Linked DNA regions of Homo sapiens: regions 1 and 3 are each linked to region 2. The links are contacts of gene promoters, found by promoter capture Hi-C in blood cells and fetal thymus (Javierre and others, 2016). All regions are on one chromosome and are shown on one strand. Each heading gives the region's core, a stretch centred on a gene start or on the middle of the fragment in contact. The rest is flanking DNA. Distances are from core to core; before and after follow the strand shown.

Region 1 (2,700 bases), core at 23-2,522, 41 kb after region 2:
GTAAGAGATGTGTATTATACTTTTATTCCTGCTGCTTTCAAGATTTTTTCCTTGTCTTTGACTTTCAGAATTTGATGTGTCTATCTGTTGGTCTCTTTGTGGTCATCCTGCTTGAAATTTGTTCAGCTTCCTGGATGTATAGATTATTGTATTCTAATAGTTTTCAGCCATTATGTATTTGAATATTTTTCCTACCTTCTGTGTCATTAAGTGCACATTGCTGCACTTAATGGTGTTCCACATTTCTCTGAGGCTCTATTTTCTTCATTGCCTTTTCTCTCTGTTTTTACATAATCTCTACAATCTGTCTTCAAATTCACCTATTCTCTCTTCTGCCAGTTCAAACCTACTGTTAAGCCCCCTGGTGAATTTTAAAATTTCAGTTATTGCACTTTCTAACTCCAGAATTGCCACATGGTTCTTTAAACATTTCTCTCTCTCTCTATATATATATATCTCAATTATATATACACACACACATAATTTCAACTTTTATTTTAGATATACGGGGTACACATGTGTGGGTTTGTTACATGGGTATATTGCACCCAGGTAGCGAGCACAGTACCCAATAGGTAGTTTTTCAACCCACTCCCACCTCCTCACCCCAGCAGTCCACAGTGTCTATTGTTCCCATGTTTATGTCCATGTGTGCTCAATGTTGAACACCCCCTTATAAGTGAGAACATGCGGTATTTGGTTTTCTGTTCCTGTTAGTTTGCTTAGGAGATATTCTTTATTTGATGAGACACTGTCATAATGTTTACTTCTTTAATCTTTTGTTTAGTTCTGTGAATATATTTATTTATAATGGGTACTTTAATTTTTGGTTAAATCTGACATCTGATCACTCTCACAGGCAGTTTTTGCTGCCTGCTTTATTTCCAGTGTATGAGTCACACTGTTTCTTTGCATGCCTCATACATTTTTGTTGGAAACTGGACATTTTAAATAACATACTGTAGTTACTCTACTAGTTCACCTCCCTCTGGTTTGGTTATTATTATTTGCTTAAGCTTAGTGCCTGGATGGATTATTTTAGTGAAGTCTATCCTTCCCTAATCCCAACAGCGTTGTTTCTCAAGTTCTTCCTCAGGGAGGCACAGCTTTTGGTATGCCCCAGAAATCCTGCGTACTCTCGCGCACTTTTTCCTCTTGACCATATACCCTGTTGTTCAACTCCACTAATTGCTGGCTTACTGTTCTATTGTTTACACTAGTGTAGTCTTTGCAGTCTCACCCTTAAAAGCAGCCTGCCCTGAATCCTTTCTCTCAGGGTGTACTGTCTATCCTGCACTTAACTTTCAAAATATTCTTTCTCCTTTACAATAAATTACTCTATGTTGCACTTCTTTTGCTGTGTGTCTCGAGCTCTCTAGTTTAAACTTCTCATGCTCTTTTTTTAAAAGTCAGTTCCTTTGGAAAGAGATTAAGAGCTACCTGTTTTGTTTTCATCCTACCTCATTTGCAGGCAAAAATCTCTGAGCCAGGGATCTGGAGCTAGAGGTGGGGACAATGGCAAGCTTGAGTTGGCATTCTAGCTCTAGAAGCTGAGTGCAATGGAAGGGGGCAGTAGCCTGAGATCCTCTTGGCTTGCTTTTCCTGGGGTAGAATCCTACTTCACGAGCCAGAGAGTTATCAAGGCCCCAGCAATCTCAGCACATGTGTTCAAGGTTTTGTGGCCTGGTGGGGAGAAGACGGCTCTCACCTGGCCACACTGACCCAGGACTTAGTGCTAGCAAAAGGCAGTTGAAGGCAGGACAAGAATCACTACAGTCTCGCTCCTTTCGGGAAAAAAATTTCTGGCTGGGAGATGGTGGGATAAGGAACCCAGCGTTTTTGGCTGCGTTAGTCTGCTTGCTGAGCTTGGAGGTGGAAGTGAGTAGTCAGTCTTGGTTCAAACTACCACAGATTCTCATCTTCCTTACTGAATTTTTGTAAATGTTCTTGAATAGATGTTTCTTCATTGCCATTTGTCCTCAGGACCATTTCCAGAAGTTTTAAATGGTTGTTTTTAATATTTTTCACCAGTTTCACAGTATGAAAATTAAACATTCAATTTTTTTACTAAAATGTATTATTTGAAAATTCTATACTAAAAATACAATGGAATTAACCCCATCAATTTCATAATGACTATAAAGTAATCAAGTCACAGAGCCAAAGTATAGACAGTTTAGAAGACTGAACTTTCCTTAGCACTAATATTTAACAATAGGAGCCAATTTCACTTAAAATAATCTGAATGTTATATATGCAACAAATTTTAGTCTCTGTAAAGAATCTTATACCAAAAACCCTATAAAAATGTTAAGTAAATTGAGCCTATTTTTACCATAGGCCTGGCCAAATGTACACATGAAAACTGATGAACGTAATGTGCAAAAAGGCTTGGAGAGAGTTTTATTTCAGTTACTTCAAAATACAAGTAGGCTATTATTTTCCTTTGGAAGAAGAAACCAGAAAAAAAACTTCCTGATTGTAACATTGTGACAAATTTCAGATTATATAACACATAACACAGGATAAATGGCTGTAGCATTAATTTTTTTCTCCAGTTACATTCCTTTATACTAAAAGACTAGTATTAAATCTTAGAAGAAAATTTCAATTGTTCTTACGTGTTACATATTAAACACAAAAGCAATTTATTATTATTTGGTACAACATGAACCTCAGTATTTGCTCAAATGTAGAAAA
Region 2 (2,700 bases), core at 99-2,598:
AAACCTCTCAGCGAATCCTATACGGAATAGTCTTTAGCAGTATACATTTTGGAATCTTCTGTGTGCCCCAGAACACACAATATGGATCCAATTAGATTCAGCTGCCTTATGTTACAAACAAACATTGAAAGGGAGAAAACAGAAGTGGGAGTGGGAGCTTTGTTCATCCTCTCCTACGCCCCCGCGACCCCACACTCCCGAGGCGCGCGCATCCTCCCCACTCACTCGGGCAGCACCCACTCCCTAAATAGCCCAGCGTGGCCGGTGCCCCGCGAGCGCTCGGAGCGCTTTTCCGCTGCGGGCTTTTCACCGGATCTGGAAGGGATTTACCGGAGGGACTGGAGCCCAGCGCAGCAACCCCACCCCACCCCCACCGCCCCGGCCCGGGCGCGCCCCGCCCGCTCCCCGGCTCCAGGACTTACACCAGCGCCGACGGACAGGGCATCTGGTTCCAGGCACAGTTGTACTGAGCCTGAATAAAACTCTCACTTCCCTCCAGCACGGAGCAGCTCACATTCTTGTTCACGATGTAGGCGCACCAGTTCCTGGGGTGCAGGAGAGAGAGGGAGAGGGGCACGGGGTAAACCCGGAGAACAATGAGGCCAGGGGAGAGGGGACTGCGGCACCAGACCGAGCGAGGGTCGGGGGGGCCCGTCGCCCTCTGCGGAGGCGGGAGCTTCACCGAGCAGACGCCGGAGGGTGCCCGGGTGCGCCTCTGGAGAGCGCGCGCCTGGACCCGACCAAGACGGGAAAGAAAAGCACCCATGGTCCCAGGGGCTCATGGAATTCCTGGGAGTCGTTTTCGGATCGCCCGGGTCTGCGGGACGCTCTCTGCGCCCACGCCCCCGGAGTCAGCTCTGCCTGAGGCGCCGGCTGCGGAGCGCGCGGTCCCCCGCAGAGGGAGCCGCCCGGGGAAGTCCAAGGGAGGCCCCCGGCTGCCGCTCGTCGTCTTTGGCAGGGCAGCTCTGGGGCTCAACTGGGGGCCGGGGAGGGGTAGGCGGTTTGGGGCCAGCCAAGGGGCGCGCACTTACTTGTTCCTGGCGCTGGGCCGCGCGGGATACCCGGGCTGCGGGCCGGCGTGGCACAGCCCCGCGCCAACCAGGGCCAGCAGCGCCAGCGCCCAGCGCCAGGGCACGCGGGGCCAGGGCCGTCTGGGCTGCCACATCCCGCGCGCAGCGGGCGCGCCCCGCCTGCCCGGGTCCGGAGCGCGGCGGATCGGGGCACCGGCCACAAGGCTGCCGGCGGCCAGGGCGCCGCCCGCGAAGGCAAGAGGCTCGGGCGCTTCGCGGCGCTCCAACCAGTGCTCCGCGGCCGCCCCCTCCGGCTTCTCGTTCCTACTTCTCCTTCTGCAGCCCCGTGCGCCCTGCGCTTCTCCCCGGTCCCTCAATGACGCACAGGTCCCCCCGGGTGCCGCCCTCTTTATTTCACTTCCCTCTCCGAAACGTGACTCTCCCCCCACCAAGTCTCCCCGTCTCCAGTCCCTTCGCTTCTCGGCAGGGGGCTCGGGGTGGAGGGGCGAAAGGGTTTGGGATAAGGGTCTACGTTACAGCATTTCCAATGACTCATTCCTTTGGTCTCTTCCCAGATGCCGAGCGACTCCGCCTCCCACCTTCCGACAGGCTCGCTCCCGGCCCCCCGGGACGCGGCCGCCGTCGGCGAGTCTGGCCGTCCTCGCGTCGTGCCTGGGTGCCAGCCTCCCGGGGCGAATGAGGGACATGTTTATCAGTCCCGCGGGGAGAGGAGTGGGGGCTCGACTCGAATTTCCTCCTCGGGCAAGACAGGGCCGTTCCCCCACCAGCTCCATGGACCTAGAGAGTCCAGGAGGAAACGAACGCTGGTTCTTTCTTTGCCCAACTCTGCCTTAGGCACCATCTGACAGTTTCCGAGGCCACGCGGGGGGCGGCAGGACAGGACAAGCCACAGCCCCGCCAATTCCCAGAGGCTGCTGCAGCTCAGCGTCCGGCTCTATCACTTACTGCAATTCTCCTCCAATTCTTGAAAGGTGATCTCACAGCCTCTGCTTCTGAGGTCCCACTGTGAACTTTCTTTTTCTATTGAAACTAAGGCATTTACTCACGTTTGCTTCTTAACAGTTCAGGCACTGCTAGACATCCGTCTTAAACTTTCTTGTATGTTTTCTGCCTGTTGTTGAGTTACACTAATCTCTACCGATGTCTTTTTGGGATGAAGTACCAGAATGTTAAGTAAAATCACCACCCAAGTGTTGTATTCTAAGGGGTGTTGGAGAGAGCTGTGTGTTTGAGATGACCTGCTGCATCTAATCAATGTACAGGGTCGTGAGTGGCGTGGTTACCAGACTCCACAGATAAAACTGTGGCCTCTGTGAGCTAACCAGACGCTGTTGGCCATGACTCGTTAAGTGAATAAAGCTTTGCTATGGGCCAGGCGGGGTGGCTCACGCCTGTAATCCCAGCACTTTGGGAGGTCGAGGCGGGTGGATCACCTGACGTCGGGAGTTCAAGACCAGCCTGACCAACATGGAGAAACCCCGTCTCTACTAAAAGTACAAAAAAAAAAAAAAAATTTGCCGGGCACGGTGGCACATGCCTGTAATCCCAGCTACTTGGGAGGCTGAGGCAGGAGAATCGCTTGAACCAGAGAGATGGAGGTTGCAGTGAGCCGGGATCTCACCACTGCACTCCAGCCTGGGCAAAAAGAGTGAAAATCTGTCGCAAAAAA
Region 3 (2,700 bases), core at 108-2,607, 37 kb before region 2:
AATCAGCCGGGCATGGTGGCAGGCGCCTGTAATCCCAGCTACTCGGAGGCCAAGGCAGGAGAATTGCTTGAACCAGGTAGGCAGAGGTTGCAGTGAACCGAGATTGCGCCACTGCACTCCAGCCTGGGCGACAGAGCGAGACTCCATCTCAAAAAAATAAAAAATAAAAAACAATTTTAACCCCCCTAAATTCAGATGTATGGGCCCAAGTAAAAACAAACAGTACATCATTACATCTGAATCTCTTCACAGCTGTGCCTCCAGGTGACACAAGTCTGAACCCACTGGCATTTCCTACCCTGATGTTTAAGGCATTGGCTTTCACAACAAGCTGGCCCTAGCAAAGCAATTTACTTGCAAGGAAGTTTGTCTTACAATTGCTACTGCTCCTGAGAATAAATTTGTCACATGTGGCTACTGCAGGTATCTATGTGTGTTATTCGAAGGCCATTCAAAGCTCACCATTGTAAAGCACAAATCCTGTTGTTTGAAGGAGCACCGGAAATATTAAAGGTGGCCATACATAATAGCACAAATAAGAAGTTACCTGTGGCTTTCTTCAAGCTGTTTCGAGGCCGAGCCGGCGTGGGGCGGAGGGTCTTCACGGGGTCTTTGGGACCTTCTTGGCAATCTCCCCCTCTAAAGCCAGGACAGCACCTCCATTCCAACTGTGTCACTGTCTTATACCTAGTGACATATCTAGGTCTGAAGTTCACTCGATACCTGTGGACAGAAGGGATGGCATCTCTCTTTACTGGCTGCCGTTACAAGCAACTTCCGGCGCTAGACCCAAATAAAGAGGACTCAGGGCATGCAGGACCCTGCCTGCTCTCCAGGCTGGCCCAGAGGGGATGTTGGTCTCCTCAGTCCAGATCTGACTGGGGGGTTCAGCCTAACTCAGATCAGCCTCAGGAAGGCAGGGGCTCCCCAATCCTCCACCTGCCCTGAGCACCCGTTTCCCAGCAAGGGGAACACACAGCTTAGAAAATCTCCACCAAGACTCCCATTTGAGAAGGATACTTTTCAGCCCCCAAACTGAGCTTTTGTTTCACCAAACTTCTGTTCTACAATTCAGTTTGTGGGGATTTGTTTCAGGTGTCACTAGAGATTGTTTTGTTTTGTGTTTTAAAGAAATATTCCTGGCCGGGCACAGTGGCTCATGCCTGTAATCCCAGCACTTTGGGAGGCTGAGGCCAGCAGATCACTTGAGGCCAGGAGTTCGAGACTAGCCTGGCTAACATGGTGAAATCTAGTCTCTACAAAAAATACGAAACTTAGCCAGGTGTTGTGGCGCATGCCTGTAGTCCCAGCTACCGCTGAGGCACGAGAATTGTTTGAATCCAGAAGGCGGAGGTTGCAGTGAGCTGAGATCACGCCATTGCACTCCAGCCTGGGAGACACAGCGAGACTGTCTCAAAAAAAAGAAAAAGAGGCTGGGCGCGGTGGCTCACGCCTGTAATCTGAGCACTTTGGGAGGCCGAGGCAGGCGGATCACGAGGTCAGGAGATCGAGACCATCCTGGCTAACACGGTGAAACCCCGTCTCTACTAAAAATACAAAAACATTAGCCGGGCGTGATGGCGTGCGCCTGTAGTCCCAGCTCCTTGGGAGGCTGAGGCAGGAGAATGGCGTGAACCCGGGAGGTGGAGCTTGCAGTGAGCCGAGATCGCGCCACTGCACTCCAGCCTGGGTGACAGAGCAAGACTCCAACTCAAAAAAAATAAAAAGAAAGAAAGAAACATCCCTGGCACCCTGCTCTCCATCATGTCTGTGTGTTTACCGCTGCACCTCCCTTTCCTGATGCTAGCAAAGGTAGCCACCAGCTTTTGCAGATGGCAGCTCACACTATTTGTGTCCACTTTTTACAAAGATGCCCTGGTTCATACTGTCAATGACAGAAATCAGGAAGCAGAATTGGAAGCACTCAAAAAGTCCTGTTGACAGTGCACATCCCCTCATGCCCTGGAATATCACACAGAGAGCTTTGCAGTGAGCTGGAAAGTCCTCCAGACTCAAGGCCGGGCCTGGGCCCACAACAGACTTTGACAGCCCTGCAGTCCCGGGCTCACCAGGGAAGGAGCCAGGAGTTCAGCCCCCGCAGCGGCCCCTGCTCACAGCACAGGCAAAAGCCACAGCCACACAGGATGGGGCCTCCCTACTTCAGCCCAATTGTGATTTCCTGCCTTGCAAATCATCTCTCTTGAAGCTCTTCAGCTCCTCTTCATTTCTTACACCAGCACCAGCAGCTGGCCTTCTTCTTGAGCCAATTCCCAGAAAGCAATAGGCTGAGTGTCACTTTTTCAGGGTTGCTGAGAGCTGCCCATGGGGGGAGGCGGGACAATAGCAGCAGCGGGGTTACCCAGCAAAGCAACTCCCTCCCAAGCACCAGCCCTGTGGCAGGTGGACTTCAAAGTTACCTCCCTGAGGAAAGCACAAATCATGTGCTGGACCTTTGACATCCTCCCCGAGGGTCACACACTGACAATTACACTCTGGGTATAGGATCCACCCCGCTGGGACTGGCTAGGCACCCTGCAGAATCCCAAGAGGGCCCTGCCGACAGCTAGGACCCGCCAAGCCCATTAGACCTCCTAGCACCTTCCACTGTCCCTGTTTCCTTTGGTTTTTGTTGTGTTTTTTGTTTTGTAGAGATAAGTATCACTTGGTCGCCCAGGCTGGAGTGCAGTGGTACAATCATGG

What was found. Contacts are between HindIII fragments. The CHiCAGO score rates a contact against its expected background, and 5 or more counts as called.
Region 1: a contact is called between a fragment that was not itself captured here and the fragment with the promoter of EMILIN2 in region 2, in 1 of 17 cell types (monocytes). The highest score is 9.2, in monocytes.
Region 3: a contact is called between a fragment that was not itself captured here and the fragment with the promoter of EMILIN2 in region 2, in 1 of 17 cell types (monocytes). The highest score is 7.2, in monocytes.

What each region holds. Positions count from the first base shown.
Region 1 is chr18:2,804,693-2,807,392 of GRCh38, reverse strand. It overlaps SMCHD1 (structural maintenance of chromosomes flexible hinge domain containing 1), which reads right to left. Exons shown (of 48, transcript NM_015295.3): 48 at 2,376-2,700. Among named protein-coding and RNA genes, the nearest start is that of EMILIN2, 41 kb to the left of the region's middle. The HindIII fragment of the contact is 507 bases long and covers 1,019-1,525 here.
Region 2 is chr18:2,845,654-2,848,353 of GRCh38, reverse strand. EMILIN2 (elastin microfibril interfacer 2) reads right to left here and starts at 1,348. Exons shown (of 8, transcript NM_032048.3): 1 at 1,032-1,348; 2 at 423-545. The coding sequence starts at 1,165. RefSeq lists silencers at 371-460, 1,081-1,130. The HindIII fragment of the contact is 11,570 bases long and covers 1-2,392 here.
Region 3 is chr18:2,882,987-2,885,686 of GRCh38, reverse strand. It overlaps EMILIN2 (elastin microfibril interfacer 2), which reads right to left. Exons shown (of 8, transcript NM_032048.3): 3 at 548-723. Among named protein-coding and RNA genes, the nearest start is that of EMILIN2, 37 kb to the right of the region's middle. The HindIII fragment of the contact is 6,579 bases long and covers 1-2,700 here.